2 separate regions of the Homo sapiens genome follow, and region 2 is linked to region 1. Evidence: promoter capture Hi-C in 16 types of primary human blood cells and fetal thymus (Javierre and others, 2016). All regions are on one chromosome and are shown on one strand. Each heading gives the region's core, a stretch centred on a gene start or on the middle of the fragment in contact. The rest is flanking DNA. Distances are from core to core; before and after follow the strand shown. Region 1 overlaps KANSL3 (KAT8 regulatory NSL complex subunit 3). Region 2 holds the start of FAM178B (family with sequence similarity 178 member B).

Region 1 (4,751 bases), core at 1,004-3,503:
CTGGAGGATAGCTTCTAAACCAAATCTAAAACTATCTTTGCACACAAGTGTTGTGAAGAGGTAAGCAGGGGATCAGAGCTCCATCTTCTGTGACCACTTCTCCAGGGACTGCCACCTATAGGGCTCAGGTTGGTACCAACAGCCCTGCATAGTAGAGTCACTGTCAATCATCTTCCCACTTGTAAGCAGGAAGACAAAAAGTCTCATGAAATAGAAACGAAAACACTGAAGCATGGCCTTCATCGTCCTAATGCCACAAGTTTCCTGGGATGGCCAAGATACTACCTTAGCTTATTGTCCCTGCTTCACCTCCAGAGACTGGAGACAGAGGATTTTCCGGGGTTGGGGTTTCTTCTCTGACTTGGCAAATTCTTCTTTTTATCTCCAGCTGAACCACCAGTTCCTTGGGTAGCAGAGCAGAGACCTAAGCACAAACCACAGGGCTTACTAGCACATCCTTCAAGCCACTTCCTTTGCTGTTCTATTACTCTTCTTCAGCTTATCTGAACCTGCGGACTCTCTGGATACAGAAACTGCCCAAAGCATGGTGAAAAAGACAAAGGGCCCAGGTTTCACCTGGCAACCACTGCTCCCAACATCTAGAGTAAGTCAAAGAGGCTGAAAGATGACAGCCTAGTTCTCTTTGCCTTCATTATGATACTAACAAAAACCAGAAGTTTCCAGGAGTCAGCAAGCTACTCAGTATCTGACGTGGTTTCTAAGGTGGAGTTGCATGGGGAGCACTCTCCCGTGGCTGCTGAGTGAAGGCAACAGTGATGTCCAAAACAAGCCCGTCCGGCTCTGAACCACCAGTTGGCAGGCCAGGATGACTCCAGTCTTTAGCAAAGAGCTTTCCATTCTAACTCCCGAAATCCCAGACCAGATGGATGTCTCCTCCCAACTAGGCGCAGAGGGTAGCACAGACTTCCAAAAGGAAACACCTTCATTAAATGCAGCAGGCAGTCCTATATGCTGACCCTTGGGTCAAACCACAGCTTAAGCGGGGGAAGAAGTGGTTCTGATCCATGTACAGCCAGATCTGCTGAGGAGTCTGGGGTTCCCAGGAACCAGATTTGCAGATCCTGGACGATGGTGCTTCCCTTGCTGGCACCGTATCACCTAACCTAATGGTTTCTCTGAAGACAGTTGGCGGAGAGGCAAAAATGACTGTCTTAAACAGGTCTTCCGACACGTGGACAGCTCAGCAGGACCACACACCTGTCCAGGGCCCACCATGAGGCAGCCATCACCAACTTGGTAAGGAGGACATATCACACAGCATCTTCAGGGTGCTGGAGGCAGGCGCTGTGGCAGGAGAGGTAGTGAAGAAGGGTCAAAGCTTTGACAGGTTATCATCATATTCAGACCCTCTATCCCAATTATCCCAACTCCTGAGAATTTATTTTAAAGAATTAATTCTCAATAGGAAAGAAGTTGGATACACAAGGACACATGTTCTAGCTGCCAAGTGGTTAACAGAACATGGACTCTAGAGTGAGAGACTCAACTTTCCACTTTTTAAGGCAAGTGCCTATGTTCTCTGAGCCTCCTTTTCCTCGCCTGTAAGAGGTAGATGACAGCATCTACTTTCCAGGGTCACCGTAAGGATTAAATGAAATAATCCACATAAAGCTCCTGAGTTTAATCTGTGCTCAACAACAAAGGTCACCTCATATTATTACACATGAAGACAGAAAAGGAATGCAGAAAAAAGGAAATAGGTGAGTTTTTAAGGGCAACAGAACAGAAGGGAAGATTTCCGTGACTTCTGATTTTGAGGCCTTAGACATGTAGGTGTGGGGGGATGCCATCAATGTTGAGCCCTGCAGCTTAAGAATAAGGAAGCAAGTAGAGAGGGTGGCCTTTTTTACCAACGCTTTCCCCACTTTTCTAAATTTCCCCCTTGGGAAACTCCTAAGAGGTCTCTGAGAATGTAGTAAAGGAGGGAAGGCCAGGCGAGGTGGCTCATGCCTATAATCCCAACACTTTGGGAGGCCAGGCAGGAGGACTGCTTGAGCCCAGAAGTTTAAGACCAGCCTGGGCAACTTAGCCCATCTCTACAAAATTTTTTCAAACATTAGGTGAGCATAGTGCTGCATGCCTTATAGGCCCAGCTACTCGGGAGGCCGAGGCCACAGGATTGTTTGAGCCCAAGAGGTTGAGGCTGCAGTGAGCCATAATCACACCAATGAAGAGGAGTTTGACAATCAAACCTCATGACTTCAATCCCAGCACTTTGGGAGGCTGAGGTGGGAAGACTGCTGGAGCCCAGAGTTCCAGACCAACCTGGGCAATATAGCAAGACCCCATCTCAATCAAAAACAAAAACAAAACCTCATGGGCTTCCCTGCCCAAAGGCAGGGCTGTACACAGATGATCACTCTGTTCTGATTATGAATACACCTTAGAGTGAGCCAGCTTGCCCACAGCCTGCTACAAGGCTACAGTGAGGCCCACTGCCAGAGGCCTCCAGCTAGAGGTGCTGCTTGCCAGGCTGACAAGGTCCTGGTATGGCCAGCAGGACAGAGAGGAGAGAGAACTTATAACCACAGGCAGGGAGTCCATTTTTTGGACCCTGATGCAGGGCACAACATAGTCTCTGTCTGTCCTCTTCCTCCCTGCAGCTTCTCAGCTGTGATGAGTACACAATAGTCCATTCCCATGAAGGAAACACATAGTAAACACCAATCAGTGCCAGAAACAAAACAGATAATTAAGTGCTTATACAGATCTTAGAGAAGTCTAGTTGGTGTTCACTTTTCTTTTTAAATTCATTCCATCCAAAAATATTGCAGTATGGAACCCCAAAATAAAAAATGACTGTTTTAAAATCCTAACAATACCATTATCACACATTAAAAAGGTTAACAATTCCGTAATATCAACAACTATCCAGTCAGTGTTAAAATTTCCAATTGCCTCATAAATGTCAAAAAAATGGGTAGTTTGTTTCTAAGCATTAAAAAACGTCGGTTTCCAAAGCCTGAGGAGATTCTGATCCTGCCACCACAACAGTCACTGAATTAAGTCAACTTCCTCTCTAAACCAGGTAAGAAAACCAAAGCCCAGAAGGATAGGTGATTTGCCCAGGATCACACAGCTGGCTGAAAACAGATGACCTGACCCATAGTCCAGTGCTCTGTCTGGCAATCTGAACAGAGCTATTAGAAGCTTCTGAATCAGCAAGAAGCCTTAATCTAATAACATCCCCTTGCTTGTTGGAAAAGAATCACCACCTGACTCCTCCTAGCAATTACATATCCACTTTATTTTATTTATTTATTTTATTTTTTTGAGACAGAGTCTGGCTCTGTTGCCCAGGCTGGAGTGCAATGGTACAATCTCAGCTCACTGCAACCTCCGCCTCCCAGGTTCAAGCAATACTCCTGCCTCAGCCTCCCAAGTAGCTGGGATTACAGGTGCACGCCACCACATCCAGCTAATTTTTGTATTTTTAGTAGAGATGGGGTTTCACCATTTTGGTCAAGATGGTTTCGATCTCTTGACCTCGTGATCCACCCGCCTAGGTCTCTCAAAGTGCTGGGATTACAGGCGTGAACCACCATGCCCAGCCTACGTCCATTCTATTAAGATGAAAACTAATCTCATGTTAACATCATCAGTTAGAAGGCCAGACCTTGATCTTTATTCTGTGCTTCAACTGAGCTCCAGAAAAGGGGGATTCTCAATGACCTCTACTCTCTTCTCAATGGTAACTGGCTGGCCCAGGCCATGGCAAGCTGAGACGGATTACCTAACACAGGAGGAAGGGATCACGTGGCAGGATCTGTGTTCTAGTTGTCCATCAACATGGCATCAGCAAACGAAGACACCCTAAAAACAGGCCCAAATGGCTTTGTAGGTCACTTCTATCAACCCATCAAGGAACTATCATTTCTGTACTATAAAACTGTTTTAGAGTATGAGAGGGGAAAAGCACTTCCCATCTCATTCTACAAGGATTGAATTACCCCTTTTACATAACTAGACAAAGGAAAGCACACACACAGAAGTAGGGGGTGGAGGGGAAGAAAACTATGGGCCAAAGCCTGAGGAGATTAATATAGACGCCAAAATCCTAAGTAAAATAAAAGCAAATAGAATAGACATGCTTTTCTTTTGAAATGCTTAGCTTCTTTCTTTTTTCATTTCGTTCTTTTGATAGGGTCTTGTTGCCTTTGTATGTATAATAAAAAGAATAGGACACACTGAAAAAGCCACTGCATCTAGAATTCACACAGTTTGATATTAGGAAACCTATTAAAGTAACTCATCATTTTAACTGATTAGAAGGAAACGTTGGCCGGACATGATGGCTCACGCCTGTAATCCCAACACTTTGGGAGGCCAAGGTGGGTGGATCACTTGAGGTCAGGAGTTCAAGACAAGCCTGGACAACATGGTGAAACCCTGTCTCTACTAAAAATAGAAAAATTAGCTGAGGGTGGTGGCATGAGCCTATAGTCCCAGCTACTCAGGAGGCTGAGGCAAGAGAATAGCTTGAACTTGGCAGGCAGAGGTTGCAGTGAGCTGAGATCGTGCCACTGCACTCCAGCCTGGGTGACAAGAGTGAGACTGTCTCAAAAAAAAAAAAAAAAAAAAAAAAAAAGGAAATGTTTATCCTCATTCATTTCATGTGATTCTAAAAGAATAATGGAAAAAATTCAAAACTATCATGAGAAAGGAAAAGAATGAAGATTATCTTAGCAAACTAGAAACAGAATTGACACTCCCTTAACTTCAAGATCCAT
Region 2 (4,751 bases), core at 1,155-3,654, 390 kb after region 1:
GGTCTCGATCTCCTGACCTTGTGATCTGCCGCTTCAGCCTCCCAAAGTGCTGGGATTACGGGTGTGAGCCACTGTGCCCTGCCAAAGTGGTACATAAAAACTTTCACTCCGCCACCAGGAAGACAATTTGCCCAACCTGTTCAATACAGTTCCCGCTCAACAAACCCCAATTTAGCATCTTCTATGTGTCAGGCAGTATGCTGAGCATTGGGACCTCAAGGATGAGGAAGATGCAGTCTCTGCCCTAGAGGAGCTTACAGCAGCAGGAAGTTTCTGTCATAGGACAGACCCAGGGCTCACCAAGACTCAAGCAGATGATGAAGCCTGGGGCTCACTGGCCCAATCAGCGTATTCAGACTGGCTGGCTGCTTATGAGGCTCTTGGGCCAGGGCTGCCTGCTCAGTGGGCAGCTGACTCTAGCTGCTGCAAAATGCCTTTCACTCAAAGGTGCTATCTACCAGTGATTATATGGCATTCCAATTTTACCTGGAAGGGAGATGCAGCTACCAGCTGTTTCTTCCCTCTCCCAACCACAAAGTAACACATTTTTCATTTGTCTATCTGTTGTTTCCAGGTTTTTGCTTTTGCCAATCCCCTCCCTCACATGCCTTGAAACAAGCACTTTCAAAGACAAAGACATAAACAACAAAAGGGTGCAGGCTGAGGTGGGTCATCTTCTCTGCCTGCGTCTCCAACTCTGGATCCTGCAGTTACTGGACTCAGGCCATGGCTGACTCCTTCATCACAGCTAAGATGCTGCTGGGTTTAAGGCACTGTGACTTTCTGTGCCACTAAGACCGACAAAAAGCTGCCAAGTGAACGATGACACAAAGAAAGACACAAACTGTGGGACCCAGCCCAACTTCAGAGCTGCTAAAATGTGAACAAAAATGCATCCCGGAATGGATGGAAACCGATCATTCTAGTTGGTGTGACCTGCTCCAGTGCCTACAGTACGTGTCCTGACAGCGTGGGAGGGGATATGAAGGCCCCCCAGTCAAACAGGAGACAGCGTTAGTCTCCAAACTTAACTTTGTTATCTCTTTCCCTCCTGGGGCCCAATACCCGCCAGCCAGGACCTGTTTCTCCTCCATCTCACATTCTTTCCAGGTTCAGGACTGAAGTCGTCTTGTTCAGCTCCTTGACTTGGCCATGCTCACTCTACAATGCAGCCCATGGATGGCGCCCCCTCTGCCCAGCACATCCCTCTGCCTGGGCTCTTGTCTCCCCGAATCCTGCAAACCCCAGCCCCAGCCTTTAGCGTTCAGCCGCCCTCCCCGCTTCCCTCATCCTCCCTCGCGTCCTCGCAGTGAGATTTCAACATGTCATCTCAGTTTTTTTGTTCTTTTACTTTCCTGACTACAAGAAAAATAAAATAATCTGTCTTAAAGTGTAGCATGAGGCCAAATAATTACGGAATCCCAAGTGCTTTGGGCCCTGATGTCAAAAGAGCCAAGATGAATTCAGAATATTACAATGGTGCTGTTTCTGCGAATACTGCTTTTTCAAGACGCCTTATTCCTAACATCATGTTTTATATCCATCCTTTTAAACAAATATTTAATAGCTTGGGAATGCTGGCGAGAGCAGCGGCTCCTGTCAGCAAGGACTGAGCTCACAATTTGAAAGATGAAAGGAGATGCGTTCTACCCACAAAGAAAACGGTCTCCAGCATCATAAACTCCACATCCATCAAACCGGGCAGGGGCTGGGAATAGAAAGCCTTTCTGGAAAGAAAACACCAGCTACCCTTTGCACCCTGGGGAACATTAAAAATCAAAACAAAACATGCCACATCAACCAAAACATAAACCAGTTCTCAAACCAATCTAAGGTTCCACCCCACCAAGGCCGGCCGCGCAGTGGCCTGTGGAGAGGAGGGCCCGGCTCACGTCGGAACCCGAACCACGCGGGGTCGCAGGAACCTGAAAAGCGCCAGAGTAGCCCGGCGGCCGCACCGGGGCTGACCTGCAAGGCCTGGACCAGCCAGGAGTCCCAGGGAAGTCGAGTGCTCTCTGAGCGCTAACCACGCGCCCCTGCGGTTCCTCGGCCTCAGTTTCCTTACCTGTAAAATGGAGCCGCTGATCCTGCCTCCTGAGTTGTGGAGCGAGGCCCGCACCTGGAAGCCTTGGCCACATAGGGCGGGAAGGGCAGGGCTCCGGGGTGAGGGAGGGTGGCGGGAATTCGCACGGCCTCAGAGGACGGGGCCAGCTAGCCGGGAAAGGAAGCAGGAGCAGGCTCCCCAGGCGGCGCAGTGGGAGGACCCCAAGAGTTGCGTCCCTAGATCCAGGGCCGCCAACGTGGAACCTAAAGATCCAGTTCTGGGGATTGAGTTCCGACTCCAAACCAAGCGGCCAGCTCACAGCCGCCGCCGCCGCCAGCTGGGGAGCTCGCCGGCCAAGTGCGCACCCTCTTCCTGTTAGCCCTCCACGTGCGCGCCCTCTTCCTGCTCGCCCTCCACGTGCGCATCCACGTGCGCGGGAATTGGCTGGCGGAAGCTCCTGCCCCCAGGCAGTCCTGGGTCACGCGCACTTGTAGTAGCTTGCATTTACCAAGACAGTGAGACAGTGGCCTGGCGCGGTGTCTCATGCCTATAATCCCAGCACTTTGGGAGGCTGAGACGGGACGATTGCTTGAGCCCAGGAGTGAGAGACCTGCCTGGGCGACATGGCGAAACCCCGTCTCTACTAAAAATACAAAAATTAGCCTGGCGTGGGCAGGGCGCGGTGGCTCACGCCTGTAATCCCAGCACTTTGGGAGGCCGAGGCGGGCGAATTGCCTGAGGTCAGGAGTTCCAGACCAGTCTGGCCAACATGGTGAAGCCCTGTCTCTACTAAAAATTAAAAAACATTAACCGGGCTTGGTGGCTGGCGTGCGCCTGTAATCCCAGTTGCGCGGGAGGCTGAGGCAGGGGAATTGCTTGAACCAGGGAGGTGGAGGTTGCAATGAGCCGAGATCGCGCCACCGCACTCCAGCCTGGGCAGCAGAGCAAGACGCCGTCTCAAAAAAAAAAAAAAAAAAAAAAAAAAAAAAAAAAAAAAAAAAAAAAAAAAGCCGGGCATAGTGGTGCAGTGCCTGTAGCCCCAACTACTTCAGAGGCTGAGGTGAGAGGATCACTTGAGCCTGGGAGGCGTAGGCAGAGGTTGCAGTGAGCCGAGATCGTGGCACTGTACTCCAGCCTGGCGAAAGAGCAAGCCCCCATCTCTAACACACACACACACACACACACACGTGTGAGATAGCTGTGTCTGTTTGGCAGTGATGAGCTTCCCTTTATGGGAGATTTACATAATTATTCATAAAGGAGCGGGAATGGGCATTACTGTTAAGCATGTTACGGGGTCTCCCAGATGTGCATGTGCGTGCTAGTACACCACATCACATGTCTCATTAGCATTTTAATTCCTCACCCAGGGGTGTGTTTTTTAGCATTAAAATGAGCATAGGTCATTCCAAGGACACTCTAATCATGGGTTTCTGCACTTGTGTGAATTTGGGGATTTTCCCTTCTGCTGTTCATCCTCTTCGCTGCAGGATGTTCTAACTAGGAGCCTGATGCAGTTTATGCACCAGTGGGCGGTTTGTTCTCTACATCAATCTGGCAAGTTCATTCCCCTTTAAAGGAGGCTATGACCACTGTATCTAACCGACCTCATTTTCCCCCTCAGAGACTTTGGGTCCATGTTCTTATGAAATGTGGAGGGCTGGGTCATTTTTTCTGGAGCTGCTTCGTGCTGAGACAGGACCAGGGCCCGAAAGTCTCTTCTTGCCTGATTTAAAGTGATAGGGGTCATATCCTCCACTGGGATAAGTTGAAATCCTTGCATAACTATCAATCTAGGAATTGTTGTAACCTAGAAGACACAGACTTTAAAGGAGCTTAAACAAGCAAGGACCAAAGGTCAGTAGTAATAAGATGGCTATTGTAGGTCCCATGAAAGGTAGCAGAATGAAGCATCACATCATTATTCAGCAAGCAGAAGAACAAAAAGAGCTCCTACAAATAGGAGACCTGAGATGGGACTACCTTATGTTAAAGTAATATTAATCTCTTTATTTGGGGTGTTGGCATCTTTTCTTGAAAATGAATGTTAGGTCTTCTATAGGCTTACAAAAGGATTTTTAATTTTTAGTTGTTGATGTAGAGTCCTGTGGAAACGTAAGGGAAACAGTTTTTATCCTAGAGAGATGCACCCAGCTGGCAATGTCCTGGATTCTCTGGACTATGGTGTGTTATGGTGGTCAGCTGGGCTTTTGAGAGTGCTCCTATGAGAAGGGGTTCAGTTGGTTTCATTGGTTTTAAAGAAGCCCCCAACGAGGGTAGCAACAAGGGAGTTAGGCATTCACGTCCTTGAGTCTGCAAATTAAAGGTTGGGTGGCTGGGCACGGTGGCTCACGCCTGTAATCCCAGCACTTTGGGAGGCCGAGGCAGGCGGATCACGAGGTCAGGAGATCAAGACCATCCTGGCCAACATGATGAAACCCCGTCTCTACTAAAAATACAAAAAATTAGCCGGGCGTGGTGGTGGGCGCCTGTAGTCCCAGCTACTCAGGAGGCTGAGGCAGGAGAATGGCATGAACCCAGGAGGCGGAGCTTGCAGTGAGCCGAGATGGTGCCACTGCACTCCAGCCTGGGCAACAGAGTGAGATTCCATCTCAAAAAAAAAAAAAAAAAAAGGTAAAAAGGTTGGGTAAAGTATCTGGTCCGGGTTTTTCATCAATTCCCGTGGCAGTGCAGTGTTTGGCCTATT

Evidence for each region. Contacts are between HindIII fragments. The CHiCAGO score rates a contact against its expected background, and 5 or more counts as called.
Region 2: the fragment with the promoter of FAM178B here is called in contact with a fragment that was not itself captured in region 1 in 2 of 17 cell types (naive CD4 T cells and erythroblasts); the score reaches 6.0 in naive CD4 T cells.

Annotation. Positions count from the first base shown.
Region 1 is chr2:96,594,327-96,599,077 of GRCh38, forward strand. KANSL3 (KAT8 regulatory NSL complex subunit 3) reads right to left here. Exons shown (of 21, transcript NM_001115016.3): 21 at 1-1,305. The coding sequence ends at 1,285. Among named protein-coding and RNA genes, the nearest start is that of KANSL3, 42 kb to the right of the region's middle. The HindIII fragment of the contact is 1,832 bases long and covers 1,338-3,169 here.
Region 2 is chr2:96,984,176-96,988,926 of GRCh38, forward strand. It overlaps FAM178B (family with sequence similarity 178 member B), which reads right to left and starts at 2,405. Exons shown (of 17, transcript NM_001122646.3): 1 at 2,066-2,405. The coding sequence starts at 2,138. RefSeq lists enhancers at 1,442-1,962, 1,963-2,483. The HindIII fragment of the contact is 31,542 bases long and covers 1-4,751 here.